Linked DNA regions of Homo sapiens: all the other regions are linked to region 2. The links are contacts of gene promoters, found by promoter capture Hi-C in blood cells and fetal thymus (Javierre and others, 2016). All regions are on one chromosome and are shown on one strand. Each heading gives the region's core, a stretch centred on a gene start or on the middle of the fragment in contact. The rest is flanking DNA. Distances are from core to core; before and after follow the strand shown.

Region 1 (2,700 bases), core at 176-2,675, 300 kb after region 2:
CAGAGCCAACTTATCAAGACAGGGGAATTGCAATGGAGAAGAAGTAATTCATGCAAAGACTGGAGTTTTGTTGTTACTGAAATCAGTCTCCCTGGCGTTTGGGATCAGAGATTTTAAGGATAATTTAGCAGGTATGGACTCAGAAAGTGGGGAGTGCTGACTGGTCAGGTTGAAGATGAAATGACAGGGGGTCAAAGTGAGTTTTTGCTGACTTCTGTTCCTGGGTGGGATCACAGAACTGGTTGAGCCAGATTTTCAGTCTGGGTGGTGTCATCTGCTGCACCGGAATATAGGATCTGCAAAATACTTCAAGCACTGATCTTAGGTTTTACTATAGTGACGTTATTCCCAGGAGCAATTGGGAGAGGTCCAGACTCTTGTAGCCAGAGGCTGCATGGTCCCTAAATCATGATATCTAACTGTGTAGCTAATTTGTTCCTACAAAGGCAGACTGGTCGCCAGGCAAGAAGGAGTTTTTCTGATATCTAATTTTGTAGCTAATTTGTTAGTCCTACGAAGGCAGACTGGTCCCCAGGCAAAAAGGGGTTTTTTTGGGGGAAAGGGCTAGTATCCATTTTGTTTCAGAGTTTAAACTATAAACTAAATTCCTTCCCAAGGCTAGCTCGGTTTAGATGGGGTGGGGGAATGAACAAAGACAGTTTAGACGTTAGAAGGAAGATGGGGGTCCGGGGGTCTGTTAGGTCTGATCTTTCACTGATATAATTTCCTCAGTTATAATTTTGCAAAGGCGGTTTCGGTCCTGCCTCTCATTACAGGGCCACTTGTTGAGTAAAAGGGTCTCAAAAGATAAAGATATTGGCTTTGATGGGGGTGATGGAGGAGAGAGGATGAGCCTGACGTCATGTCCCATGCCAGTGAGTGGGGCGTCAGGAAAAAGAAGGAGATTCTTTAACAATGGAAAGCTGCTAAAAATCTATGGAATTGGACTGAGAGACCATTAGCAGTTTTTGGAAGAAGAAACCACTTCAGGTTTGCTCCCTGGGAAAGAAAAATATCTTGGGCCCCCAAAACTCACTAAGCTAAAAGGAAAACTCAAGCTGGAAACCGCTTAGGGCCAACCTGCCTCTCATTCTATTCAACCTACCTCCCATTCTATTCAACCTACCTCCCATTCTATTCAACCTACCTCCCATTCTATTCAACCTGCCTCCCATTCTATTCAACCTGCCTCCCATTCTATTCAACCTGCCTCCCATTCTAGTCAAAGTTATCTCCCTGCTCATTGAGATGAATGCATATCTGATTGCCTCTTTTGGAAAAGCTAATCAGAAACTCGAAATAAGGCAAGTTTGTATTTCACCTATCTGTGACCTGGAAGCCCCTCCCTGCTTCAAGTCTTCCTGGCTTTCCTTCAAATTGTCCTATCTTTCCAGACCGAACCAATGTACTTTTCACATATATTGATTGATGTCTTATGTCTGCCTAAAATGTGTAAAACCAAACTGTGCTCCAACCACCTTGGGCACATGACGTCAGGACTTCCTGAGGCTGTGTCACGGGTGCGCATCCTCCACCTTGACAAACTTTCTAAATTAACTGAAACCTGTCTCAGATTTTGGGGGTTCCCATACCTAACGAGTCACATCAGTCAAATCAGTTATAACACTTTGCCGAGTAAGTTCCCATAAACGTTTTATTACCATGTTTGCCATAATTTTAAGGGAGAAAAACAAGGGCCCGAGAGTTTTAAGTCCTTGTCCAGGTAGACACGCAGGTGGGTGGTGGCAGAGGAACTGGACCCAAGGCCTTCGCCTTCACCTCTCTGGATGGTTTCTAGTCTGTTCAGCTTCAACTGTGACATCCTTTCTGCTCCAAAGCCTTTCAAGTGTCCAGTTGTACCTGACTTCTGTCTTCTTGTACATATATTCTGATTCAGCCCTGAGCCATACTCTAGGCCACAGTTGGAGGCTCTTCAATCCACAGAAAGAGCAAAACCACCTTATGAGAGATGGAGGCAGATGGAGGCAGCCAAGGAAACCATGTGTGGATGGGCCAGTCAGGCTCCTTCACGCTGGCCGGCTGGACGAGGTGACTCAGGTGTCCCATCCATGACACCTCCAAGAGCAAGATGGAGAATGAGGAAGGAGACTGAGATGAGCTGAGTTCTGATTGTATGTCAGGGGCTGGCTGGGCTGGATGAGTGCCACATAAAGGTTATCTCACTGAGTCCTCACACCTGTCCGGGGGGGTCCATTTATTCTACTCACTTTCATACACCCAAGAATGCAAGAATCAGAGAAGTTGTGCAGCTTGTCCAAAGGCCCAGGTCTGTCTGACTTGAGAGTCAGCCTGTGGTTTCCTGCCCCACGTGGGGTTCACGGTGACCTGCTTTGGTGCTGGGTCATAGTCGCTGGATGAGAGATTCTCTAGTAGCTGGAGGAAGGGGATCTAAGGGGGGCTGGGCTCACAGAACATGGGGAGGTGAGGAAAAACACACTAGAAGCTCTGGCTCAGGTGGAGGCAGGAACGCTCTGGGGTGAAATGTGTTGTCAACCATGGGATGACGGCTGCCCCGGGACAGGACATGTCTAATCACACTCTGCCCTGGTTTCTGCAAGAGTCACTGGGCTGGTTACGAAGCTATTGTTTCTCAGCCCCAAGTTCCCTACTCAGTACCTGCTTTGCGGTGGGGCGGATCTGGGAAGGTCCTGCTCAGCTCTGCCCACAGGGCAGGGAGCG
Region 2 (2,700 bases), core at 51-2,550:
ACCGTCCCACGTGGGGACGCATTCCGCACCGGTTGCTGGAACTGACGGGGGCTGCAGTGCTGAATACCTCTGGGACGCTTGGGAACTGTGCCCCTGTTTACAGACGGCAAGCCCTTAGTGGTAGGGCCCTGAGATTCTGAGAAACATAAGGTCTGCTTTATTTAATTTCCTCTCGTTTACCAAGAGTCACAACCTATTTTAGTAAATAAATTCAGGAAATTGGTAAAGCACTTTACTCCATCCGTTATGCCTCGGTCATCAGCATGGTTGTCACGGTCTCTCTGGCTCACGGGCTGCTGCGGCTCACAGCCTTCCCTCACTTGCCTGCAACCAGCTGAGAGCCTCCCTGGTGATGGGTGTTACTGAGCTTAAACGATGTAAACAAACAGAACGGCACACAAGTTGTGCAGGGAAGTATATTTCCTCTACCTTGTTAATAAAGATTTCTAACTTTAGAGATTTTCTGTATTGACTCTGGCATTCTTTCCAAATAATTATTTTCACCCCGGGGACTACCCACACACCCTGGGATAGAATAAAAGAAATTATCTTTCATTTGAGGGTACCAGCAACCCGCTCTCCAGCTCTAATCCTCTTCATCCTCCTTCTTTTTTTTTTTTTTTTTTTGGTTGTTAAAACCTGAGCTGCTGCCAAGCTGATCTTAATAGCATGTTCACAAAGACAGATGGATTTTTTTCCTACCTTCATTAGCCACTGAGTGTTGTTTTCCATGATGTTCTCCAGCACTTGCAGCCTCTGCACCGAGTCATCGTATTCGAGCGGCGCGTCCCTCTGCACAGCATTGGACACGTAGGGGCTGGAGGAAGAGCGGCAGTTGTCCATCTCTGGCAGGAGGAAAGTGTAGCTGCAGGACCCATGCTGGACCTGATATTGCTTCTTTCCTATGCTGTCCATGCTCTTCCGAAAGTTGTTATAGGCTGCGGCCAAGACAAGATCACAGCTCAGAGTAAAGAAAACAATCTGCCACATTCTTTCTTCAGTAATAAACCAGCAGCTTAGCAAACTTGAGGGCAAACACACGTCCAGAGTCCCGAGCTGCTGCCGTCTAAAACGCAGGGCTGCTACGCTGCCATGGCTGGGTCCGTCAATGAAAGTCTTCTCTTTCCTCTTTTTCCAGTAGCAAACCTGGTTTTTACTGCTGTGTTCTCTCCAGGCATGCAGTAAACTGTCAGATTGCAGTGGGAAGAACAGTCCTGCTCACTTGGGAGGGCTGTGTCAGCTTTTACAGAGCAGCTTTCACGGTCCTTTGTTCCTCTCTCCCCAGATCCTACAGTGTCAGTATCCGAATCAATCACTTTCCTTTCCTTATATGATAAGTTGATAAGAGCAGCCAGACATGTGTAGTGGGCTGCTCCGCCCTCCTGGCTTAGCCGTTATCTTCCTGTAGGGGGTCACTAGCCAGGCAACAGGAAAAATCAGAGCAGAATGCCTGCCCTCCAACCAGGACCCATGCTGCAGAAACCCTCTGGGAAAAACCGATCTGTTACAGGACCCCTGGGCATTTCCTAGGCACCACCCCAATTAAGTATTTCCTAGAGAGAGCAGTTGATCTCTTTTGTCTGAAACTGATTTTTGCCGTGCTAAGCTGGCAAAATATCTGAGGTAATAACTTTAATGTTGAAGTACAATGAAAGTTCCTGTTTTTTCCTTTAGGAATAAAAATATTACAAATAGGTCAGGACTTCGGTTTATTTTTGTTATTACAAATAAAGAGGAAGAAGTTTGGCTCCTGTAAACGTGTGCCTTTTCAGAGGGAAAAATAGATTCATTGATTTTAGTTGATTCTTGAACCACTAGCCAAGTTACAAAAGATTTTCATTTCCGAACAGTTGGATAGAAAGATCTGTTATTAAGTCACGTTAGAAACATCAGTTTCTGAGCTCTGACCTTTATTCTTTAAAAAAACTCCACTTGGATATTCACTCTAAAAATACACTGTACTGATTAAGTTCATTACATTACAATAGAGAAATTAGAATTTAAGTGCCTGTGTAGAAAGAGGAATACAAACTTTTTTTTTTTTTTTTTTTTTTTGAGACGGAGTCTCGCTCTGTCGACCAGGCTAGAGTGCAGTGGGGCAATGTTGGCTCACTGCAACCTCCGCCTTCCGGGTTCAAGTGATTCTCTTGCCTCAGGCTCCTGAGCAGCTGGGATTACAGGCAAACGCCACCACACCCGGCTAATTTTTGTATTTTTAGTAGAGACAGGGTTTCACCATGTTAGGCTGGTCTCAAACTCATGACCTTGTGATCGACTCGCCTTTGGCCTCCCAAAGTGCTGAGATTACAGGTGTGAGTCACCATGCCTGGCCCACAAACTTCTTTATTGTGTCAGAATTTGTTGACATCTCAGCATTTTGTAACACATTATCAATTACATTAGTCCCCCTTGGTATTAGACTCGGGCAAGTCACTTCCCTGTTTTAATTAAGCTCTAATGTCCTCATCTGTGCAATTCAAGGGGTGCACTCACAAGATTTTTCACCTTCAATCCTATGGCTCTGTAAGTTCTGCAAGTCACTTCCTTTAACAACTAAAACTTAATACTTCAGAGATTAATAATATGTTAACTCAGCAGCCCAAGTGTACATAGGGAAAAAGCCCCCTGCCTTTGCTGCGGTTTATCTCTCAAGGTACAAGGTTTATTATTCCCAGTGAGCGCTGAATAGCTGGTACACTG
Region 3 (2,700 bases), core at 68-2,567, 270 kb after region 2:
CAAGTTTGCTGGCTGCGTGCCTGTAATACCAGCTACTCGGGATGGATGAGGCACCAGAATGGCTTCAACTCAGGAGGCGGAGTTTGCAGTGAGTCGAGATTGGGCCACTGCATTCCAGCCTGGGCCACAGAGCAAGACTCTTGTCTCAAAACAAAACAAAACAGTAACCAACCAACACAGTGTCCCCATCACCAGCAAGAGTCTCCTAGGAGCAGGCTGGGAGCCAGCAGAGCCTCTGGCAACAGGGACAGGCATTCACTAAATGACATTGTCAGGGCTTTCCAGAGCTGTTGGGCAATATACGACATGTGTGAAGCGCCTAGCATCTTGTGCATCCTCGAGAACGATGAAACCTCCTCTCTGGTTTGTTTGCTTGTTTGTTTTTGATGGTGGTTACGCAGTGGAGAGAGAATGTGCACTCCGCAGTCAGTAACTCCGCACTACGAAACCGTTAGTCCCTGTGGGGTCACAGCTCTCTCTGTGGGGTCCCTTTTCTCCTACTTTCACATGGGGAACTCCCTGGCCTGGAACTCTGGGCCTCCCCAATACTCCTAGCACGGCCTCCTCAGGGTTGTCTGAGGCTGATCTTGGAGGCGGTGCGCTGGTAGAGGCACCGCACACAGGCATCGTTTCACACAACTGTTACTTAGGTTTTCCAATAGTAAAGTTCTAAGTGGATGAATGAACACAAGCCGCGGATTTTAGGGAAACTGGGAAAACTGCCCTGAGGTACAGCTGCAGACGCTGCAGCTCTAGACCGCGGGGTCCGGGCTCAGGCAGCCCTTAGCGCCCAGGCTGGGTCCGGCTGTCACCACCCCGAGCGTCCTGCGGCAGCCTCCCTTGCACGAAAAGCCTTCGGTGCTGCAGGGCTGGGGAATGCTGACACCCAGTCCGTGCCCAGCTGGAGGGCAAGGGAGGACACCTGGGGTGGGTGCCGACCCCCGCAGGTCCTGTCTCAGCCCTTCCAGTCCGGGGCGCGGAGCCAGGGCGCTTGCGCGTCCTCCGTGTGCGTCCTGCTCGGCGCGCCTCGGAAGCAGCGGGACCTGCGGGGACGCCCGCGAACTCAGGGAAAAGTCCCAAGGCGGCGTTCCCAGGGTACCCCCTCTTCCACCCCAGGGACTCTGCCCGGGAAAAAGCTTCCGCAGGGAGCCCGGCGGAAGTGGGCGGAGACGCTCCTCCCGGCACTGAAGGAGTTACGCGTTCAAACCAGAAGGGCGCGAAAAATGGGGCCATCTTGCTCCGCCGCGGCTGGCGGGCTCTGGGTTCCCCCTGCGACGGAGGTGGCCTCGAAGGGCCGCGTCCCGCCCCGTCCTAAACCCCGAAGCGGAGTCGCCGTCCTACAGGGCCGCGTGGATGCGGAGCCCTGTCCCCCTCCCCCCGCCACCCCTTCTGCGAGCGGCCTCCAAGTCGCAGGGTCCCCCTGGACGGCCGGGGGTCGGGGGAGAGCCCGGGCGCCCCCAGACTTGCGCTCAGCACATCTTGGCATCGCAGCACTTTGCAAAGCTTGTGATGGAAGGAAGGGCGGATACATCTCCCCTGCTTCTGCGAGGGGATCTTGCATGCGTGGGGCGGGGGGATCGTGCATGGGCGGGAGGAAGTCAAGCACCAGTCGGGAGGGGGGGGAACCGAGCATGGGTGGAGGAAAATCATGCATCCTTGGGGGGATGGTGCATGCGTGGGCATCTACTAAGGACGGGAGGACGTGCTCTGCAGGTGGGATGGCCACCACCGTGCGTCACCGGCGCGCAGTGCTGGGCGCAGGCTGGGGCAGTGCCCGCCCGGGCATAGGCAGCCTGTGCGGCTCCCGGCGCCGGGGTGGGGTTAGGGGCTGCAGGGGTGAGCACAGCCTCGGGCTGCCGCACTCACGCGCGCTCTGCTCGGCCGCCTGCAGCAGGGCCGAGAGCCCCAGGAGCCTCGCGTGCATCTTCCGTGCCGACCCCGCAGCCTGCGCCCGCCCCTTCCCCTGCACGCGGCCCCGCGTCGGGGAGGTTTCCGGCCCGGGGCCCGACTGCGGGTGGCATTTCTGGCTAAGCCGTTAGGCGCGAATTGTATGTCTGGTTTATTCGTAGTGGCCAGCAGGGGAGGGAGGGAGGATGCTTGGGGTTTCTGGCTTCCAGGGTGGGTGGGGACGAGGTGGTGGAGTCCAGCTCAGGTCCGGGCTCCTGATAAGGGCAGAAGCGGGTTCTGCGCTGCCCCCAACCCTGTAACCGCCAGGAAAGCGCTTGGTGAGCGTCGGGACTGCGCAGGTTCCTCGGGAGGTGGCTAAACTGGCCACCGCCTCTGGGGCCGCCTAAAGCAAGTCCGTTAACCACTAGTCAGGGAGGAATACTGTGTTTGAGTAAATATATGTAGAGTTGGGTTAGAATCATTGATTGGGTCTTTTTGAAATCTTACAGTTCTGTGTCCAGAAAACACAGGGCACGTTACCCGGTATCGTGGTCTACACCTCGCCCACAAATCCATCCCAGGCTGTATCCTCATGGAAGCTTTTTCCAGATGTGCTTGAGGGTTAAGATCGCAATGTGCAAGAAGAAAAAGTGCACATTGGAAAACCTTCTCTTCGGAGATATCTATATCTATATTTATATATATTTACAGATATGGAGATATATACACACACGTATCTGAAAACATTCTGACGTTTTAAAAACGGTAAGACAGACTTTTATTCAGAACCATTTCCTTAGATGTAAGGGACTG
Region 4 (2,700 bases), core at 16-2,515, 290 kb before region 2:
ATTTTAAAATCAAGCAATATAATTTACTATATTCATAGACTAAATTGCAAAAAAAAAGTGATTATATTAATAAATGTGTGAAAAGCACTGATAAATGTTGATATCCACTGATGATTAAAAACTCTCACTAAACTAGGAATATGAAAGAACAATCCAGAATTTTGACTGACTACTTACTGGTAATTGTCTATGTTCTACTACATCAAAAACTTAAATAAGGAAGCATAAGTAAACTACAAGTGTAATCATAAAACTTTGTTTTAAAGAAAGAATTCTTCATTGACCATCTGGCAGATTATTTTTTCTTTCCTTTAAAAACTTCCAAATCCTCTCAAATCTTTTTTAAATCACATGAGAGTCCTCAAAGACAACAGACAGCATGCAATAGACCATAAGTATGGGGCTCTGCTGGCCGACTATTTTGCAAAGCTGTCATTTATCTTTTCCTTCTGTGATCCTCACATCGTCTTTTTGTGTCATTGTGGTTTGGTTTTCACTCATTTGAGGTTAAAAATGCTGAGGGATTTTGTTTTCATTTTGAAGTATAAGAGACATTTATAGCTTTCTAAAAAAGACACCTGGTGACAATCAGGAGGTTTTCTTTAAAATTCTTTAATCAGGCCAGGCGCAGTGGCTCAGGCCTGTAATCCCAGCACTTTGGAAGGCCAAAGCGGGCAGATCATGAGGTCAGGAGATGGACACCATCCTGGCTAACTCGGTGAAACCCCATCTCTACTAAAAATACAAAAACAAAATCAGCCAGGCGTGGAGGCGGGCGCCTGTAGTCCCAGCTACTGGGGAGGCTGAGGCAGGAGAATGGCGTGAACCCAGGAGGCAGAGCTTGCAGTGAGCCAAGATGGCGCCACCGCACTCCAGCCTGGGTGACAGAGCAAGACTCCTTCTTAAAAAAAAAAAAAAAAAAAAAAAATCTTTAATCAGCTCAGAGAGTTAATTAGTCACTTGGTGACCCCACCCCTGTGGGTAAAGTAGGCCCACCAAGCATATATCATTAGCATATATTCTATTTCATTCAAAAACAATACTGATAGAGGAAACAATTATTCAGATATCTTAATTAACTCATCCCAGTGCTCCGATTTAAACACCAGATTATCACCTGGTACTTACACAGCAATTCAATTTTAATCTAGATAGGTATAAAAGTATACATAAAATAGAGGTAAACATACACATACACAATTAGGACATAGTTTTGAAATATTAATCAGACGATTTTTACTTTTCCACCATTTAAAGTAGACAATAATGGGAGGCCAAAGTGGGAGGATCACTTGAGGCCGGGAGTTCAAGACCAGCCTGGAAATCAGTGAGACTCCAGACCTCCATCTCTAAAAAATAAACAAATAAAAAGATAAAATGAAGTAGGCAATGAGGCTAGAGGCTTTGCCAAGAACACCCCCCAAAAATAAAAAGGGTGCAAAGTCTTGCATACAAGTATCATATATTGGTGTATTTCTTCTTCCCTCTATTTTCTCTCCATTTTTCTTCCAGGGCCTCAAAAAAATTTCCCTCTGGGCCCGGCACAGCGGCTCATATCTGTAATCCCAGCACTTTGGGAGGCCGAGGTCGGTGGATCACTTGAGGTCAGGAGTTCAATACTAGCCTGGCCAACACGGCAAAACCCCATTTCTACTAAAAATACAAAATCAGCTGGGCATGATGGAGCACACCTATAATCCCAGTTACTCAGGAGGCTAAGGTGGGAGAATCGCTTGAACCTGGGAGGCAGAGATTGCAGTGAGCTGAGATCCTGCCACTGCACTCCACCCTGGGCAACAGGATGAGACTAAAAAAATCTTCCTCTGGAGCTGCACTAGGGCTCCTCCCAAATTCTAGTTACTTTATTAGGCATTCATTTAACAAACTCGATCAGGTGCCTGCCATGGGCCAGGTACTGGGCTACAGAAGCAGACAAAACAAAGTCGCCTACCTTTTTGGAGTTTGCAGTCTAGATGAGCAACACATACAAGAGCCAGATAGGAAAGCATTAGGCTGCCGGGCGCGGCGGCTCAGGCCTCTAATCCCAGCACTTTGGGAGGCCGAGGTGGGCGGATCACGAGGTCAGGAGATCGAGACCATCCTGGCCAACATGGTGAAACCCCGTCTCTACTAAAAATACAAAAGTTAGCTGGGCACGGTGGCGCGTGCCTGTAGTCCCAGCTACTGGAGGCTGAGGCAGGAGAATCGCTTGAACCTGGGAGGTGGAGGTTGCAGTGAGCCGAGATCGCGCCACTGCACTCCAGCCTGGCAATAGAGCGAGACTCTGTCTCAAAAAAAGAAAAAGAAAAAAAAGAAAGCCTAAGGCATGTCATATGGTGCAAAGTACTGCAGAGAAAAATAAAGGAGAAAAGAGCACCGGAAAGAGGTGGGTGCAACTTTAAAGAGAACGGTCATGGAAGGCCTCCCTGAAAGAGTCACGTTTGACCAACAACAGGAAGGAGATGAGCGATGGGGCCATGTGGATGTCAAGGAAGAGAACAGACTACGCAACAAGAACAGCCTGTGCAAAGGCCGTGAGGCAGAAAACGGTCTGAGTTCTCAAAGAAATAGCAAGGACATCAGTGTGGCGGGGGAACATGAGCCATGGGGAGAAAAGCAGAGGAGAGGTTGGAGCCTTCAGAGGACACCAGACCGATGAGGCCCTGCAGCCCACATAAGGAGTGAGATGGGAGGGCACCA
Region 5 (2,700 bases), core at 14-2,513, 320 kb before region 2:
AGATCCTGCCATTGCACTCTAGCCTGGGCAACAAGTGTGAAACTCTGTCTCAAAAAAAAAAAAAAAAAGAAAGAAAGAAAGAAAAAGGCCACGCGCAGTGGCTCACACCTGTAATCCCAGAATTTTGGGAGGCCAAGAAGGGCAGATCACTAGGTCAGGAGATCAAGACCATCCTGGCTAACACGGTGAAACCCCCTCTCTACTAAAAACACAAAAAATTAGCCAGGCATGGTGGCTGGCACCTGTAGTCCCAGCTACTCGGGAGGGTGAAGCAGGAGAATGCTATAAACCCGGGAGGCAGAGCTTGCATTGAGCCGAGATCGCCACTGCACTCCAGCCTGGGCAACAGAGCAAGACTCCGTCTCAAAAAAAATAATAATTAAAAGAAAAGAATGTTCATAGCAGCACTATTCCTAACAGTCCCAATTGAGAAACAAGCCAAATCATCAACAATAAAATAAATACAACACAGACAGCCATGAAGTCTGATAAACTGCAGCTACCTTTAGCAACATGATGAATCTCATAAATATAAAGAGAAAGAAGGTGTATTCAAGAACACATAGTGTACAGTTAAATTTATATAAAATTCAAAAACAGGCAAAGAAGTCAAGACCTACCCACCTTTGAGAAAGAAGAAAGGGTGCTGATGGAGAAGTGGTAAAAGACAGAGGTAGTGGGATCCTCAGGGGCTGGCTGTGTCTCTTGACTGCTGTGGGAAATTCATAAGCATCTTCTCTATCATAATTTATTAAGCTGCACATTTCATACTATTTATTGTTTTGTGTGTCACTGAGTCCAAACTCATTCTGCTTGCTGCACAAAGGCCAGTAAGTTGAGAGACAAGGAGTTGGAGCAAAGAAAGCCACTTTTTTGTTTGTTTTTTGTTTTTTGTTTTTTTGAGACGGAGTCTTGTGTCACCAGGCTGAAGTGCAGTGGCGCAATCTTGGCTCACTGCAACCTCCGATTCCCTGGTTCAAGCGATTCTCCTGCCTCAGCCTCCCAAGTACCTGGGATTACAGGCATGCACCACCGTGCCCAGCTATTTTTTTGTATTTTTAGTAGAGACGGGGCTTTCACCATGTTGGCCAGCATGGTCTCAATCTCCTGACCTTGTGATCCACCCGCCTCAGCCTCCCAAAGTGCTGGGATTACAGGCATGAGCCACTGCACCCGGCCAGAAAACCACTTTATTAGGACAGCCAGCAAGCCAAGAAGATGGTGGACTAATGCCCTGAAGAACCAGCTCAAAGTTAAGTGGGCTTTGCCTTGTCTTTTATCTTTAGGTAAGGGGGAAGGGGGGTTGACAACGACAGGTATCTGGGCACCAACAAGGGTCCTCGGTAATGATCTCTCATATGGTGATAGCCAAACCTCCTCGCTCCCATAAATCTTCAACAAAACAGTTAGTTGCTTACAGTCCCCATTCATCCACATGATTGCTGTTTTTGAGTTTTATCTCAGTGCTCTAAAATTATCCTAGCCTATGGACAGGAATGGGCAGAGGTCCCTTAAACAAAACTGGTGTTAGTTATGCGGTTTCACTGTCACATGGGTATTCAATATCAATTAAAGCATCTTTGAATAAAAGGGCACCTGCTTCATGCCCTCTGTTCCTTCTTCATGTTCCTCTGCCCTGATGCCTGACGTGCTCATGGGCCAGCTGGTGCCTTAGTTACCATGCTGGACCATGAGCACAAGTTCTGGGCATCATATACATGAGCTAGAAAGAGCCAAGATCCCTGAGGCCAACATGCTTTCCACAGACTTCCTGCCTCTGGATGTTTATGTGGGAGAAATAAACCTTTACCTGCGGTAAGACACCATAGTTTGGGTCAATGGAACACAAATCCTATCTTCACTGATACAAAAAGCCAGATCACAAGTCTAAAGCTCACAGCCGTCTACACCCATCTTTTTCCACAACCCTCTCAGAGTCTTACACTGTTACACCAAATTCTGGAAATTTCGTGTCAAAGAAAAAGCAATCAAATCCATTTATGTAAAAGTGAATATTGGGGCAGTGCCAAAAAAACTTTAATTGGAAACTCTCTGATTTGTTACACCTTAAAAAAATCAAACAGTGTTTTATGGCATTGATTTTTCTCTTTTTCAGCTATGGCAGCTGTTGCTTTGTAAAACTGGAATGTGACCTTTTCCTTCTTCCCACATGATTTACTCACTCCTGCATGTTAATACTTGGCAAATGATTTTTTCCTGAATATGCAGATATTTCTAAGCACTTTATTTGGTTTTTCCCATGACAATTTCAGCGTACACTTAATGTCATTTGGAATATTTTACATGGAAATAAAGAGAGGAAACGGAAGGAAATATGCGAAGATGTGATTCACTAGCTTAAAAAGCCATTTCCTTGGTAAAGGGTCACTCAAAATGTTTCACGAGGGAAATATACGGCCACATAATCAAACAGAATAAAGCAGAAACTCAGTGCAAGAGCTGTCCACTGGCATAAGCAGCTCAAAGACGAGACCTTAACTGGAACTTTGGAGCTCAGGCATGCTTCATCTGAGAAAGTCACAAGTCATTTTATAACATCCAGTTTTCTAATTTTCAGCTAACTTATGAGTTTCTTGGTTGTTACTTTTAGTCAGAATCTAATCCAAATAGTATTTTTCATGACCTCCACTGAGTTCTCCAGGGCAGGGTTCTCTATCCTTACCCACTTTGGCCCTACCT

Evidence for each region. Contacts are between HindIII fragments. The CHiCAGO score rates a contact against its expected background, and 5 or more counts as called.
Region 1: a contact is called between a fragment that was not itself captured here and the fragment with the promoter of ANGPT2 in region 2, in 5 of 17 cell types (total CD4 T cells, total B cells, fetal thymus and 2 more). The highest score is 6.3, in total CD4 T cells.
Region 3: a contact is called between a fragment that was not itself captured here and the fragment with the promoter of ANGPT2 in region 2, in 3 of 17 cell types (erythroblasts, fetal thymus and megakaryocytes). The highest score is 13.7, in erythroblasts.
Region 4: a fragment that was not itself captured here is called in contact with the fragment with the promoter of ANGPT2 in region 2 in 1 of 17 cell types (neutrophils); the score reaches 5.6 in neutrophils.
Region 5: a fragment that was not itself captured here is called in contact with the fragment with the promoter of ANGPT2 in region 2 in 1 of 17 cell types (total CD8 T cells); the score reaches 5.6 in total CD8 T cells.

What each region holds. Positions count from the first base shown.
Region 1 is chr8:6,860,439-6,863,138 of GRCh38, forward strand. No RefSeq gene overlaps it. Among named protein-coding and RNA genes, the nearest start is that of DEFB1, 16 kb to the right of the region's middle. The HindIII fragment of the contact is 4,956 bases long and covers 1-2,700 here.
Region 2 is chr8:6,561,945-6,564,644 of GRCh38, forward strand. It overlaps ANGPT2 (angiopoietin 2), which reads right to left and starts at 1,301. Exons shown (of 9, transcript NM_001118887.2): 1 at 703-1,301. The coding sequence starts at 990. All of the region lies in intron 12 of MCPH1 (microcephalin 1), which reads left to right. RefSeq lists enhancers at 118-643, 644-1,170. The HindIII fragment of the contact is 4,979 bases long and covers 1-2,700 here.
Region 3 is chr8:6,833,570-6,836,269 of GRCh38, forward strand. It overlaps XKR5 (XK related 5), which reads right to left and starts at 1,955. Exons shown (of 7, transcript NM_207411.5): 1 at 1,867-1,955. The coding sequence starts at 1,924. GS1-24F4.2 (a long non-coding RNA gene) reads left to right here and starts at 1,985. Exons shown (of 3, transcript NR_045217.1): 1 at 1,985-2,048; 2 at 2,397-2,652. RefSeq lists an enhancer at 337-1,205. The HindIII fragment of the contact is 367 bases long and covers 1,135-1,501 here.
Region 4 is chr8:6,268,050-6,270,749 of GRCh38, forward strand. No RefSeq gene overlaps it. Among named protein-coding and RNA genes, the nearest start is that of MCPH1-DT, 140 kb to the right of the region's middle. The HindIII fragment of the contact is 4,880 bases long and covers 1-2,700 here.
Region 5 is chr8:6,244,844-6,247,543 of GRCh38, forward strand. No RefSeq gene overlaps it. Among named protein-coding and RNA genes, the nearest start is that of MCPH1-DT, 160 kb to the right of the region's middle. The HindIII fragment of the contact is 6,089 bases long and covers 1-2,700 here.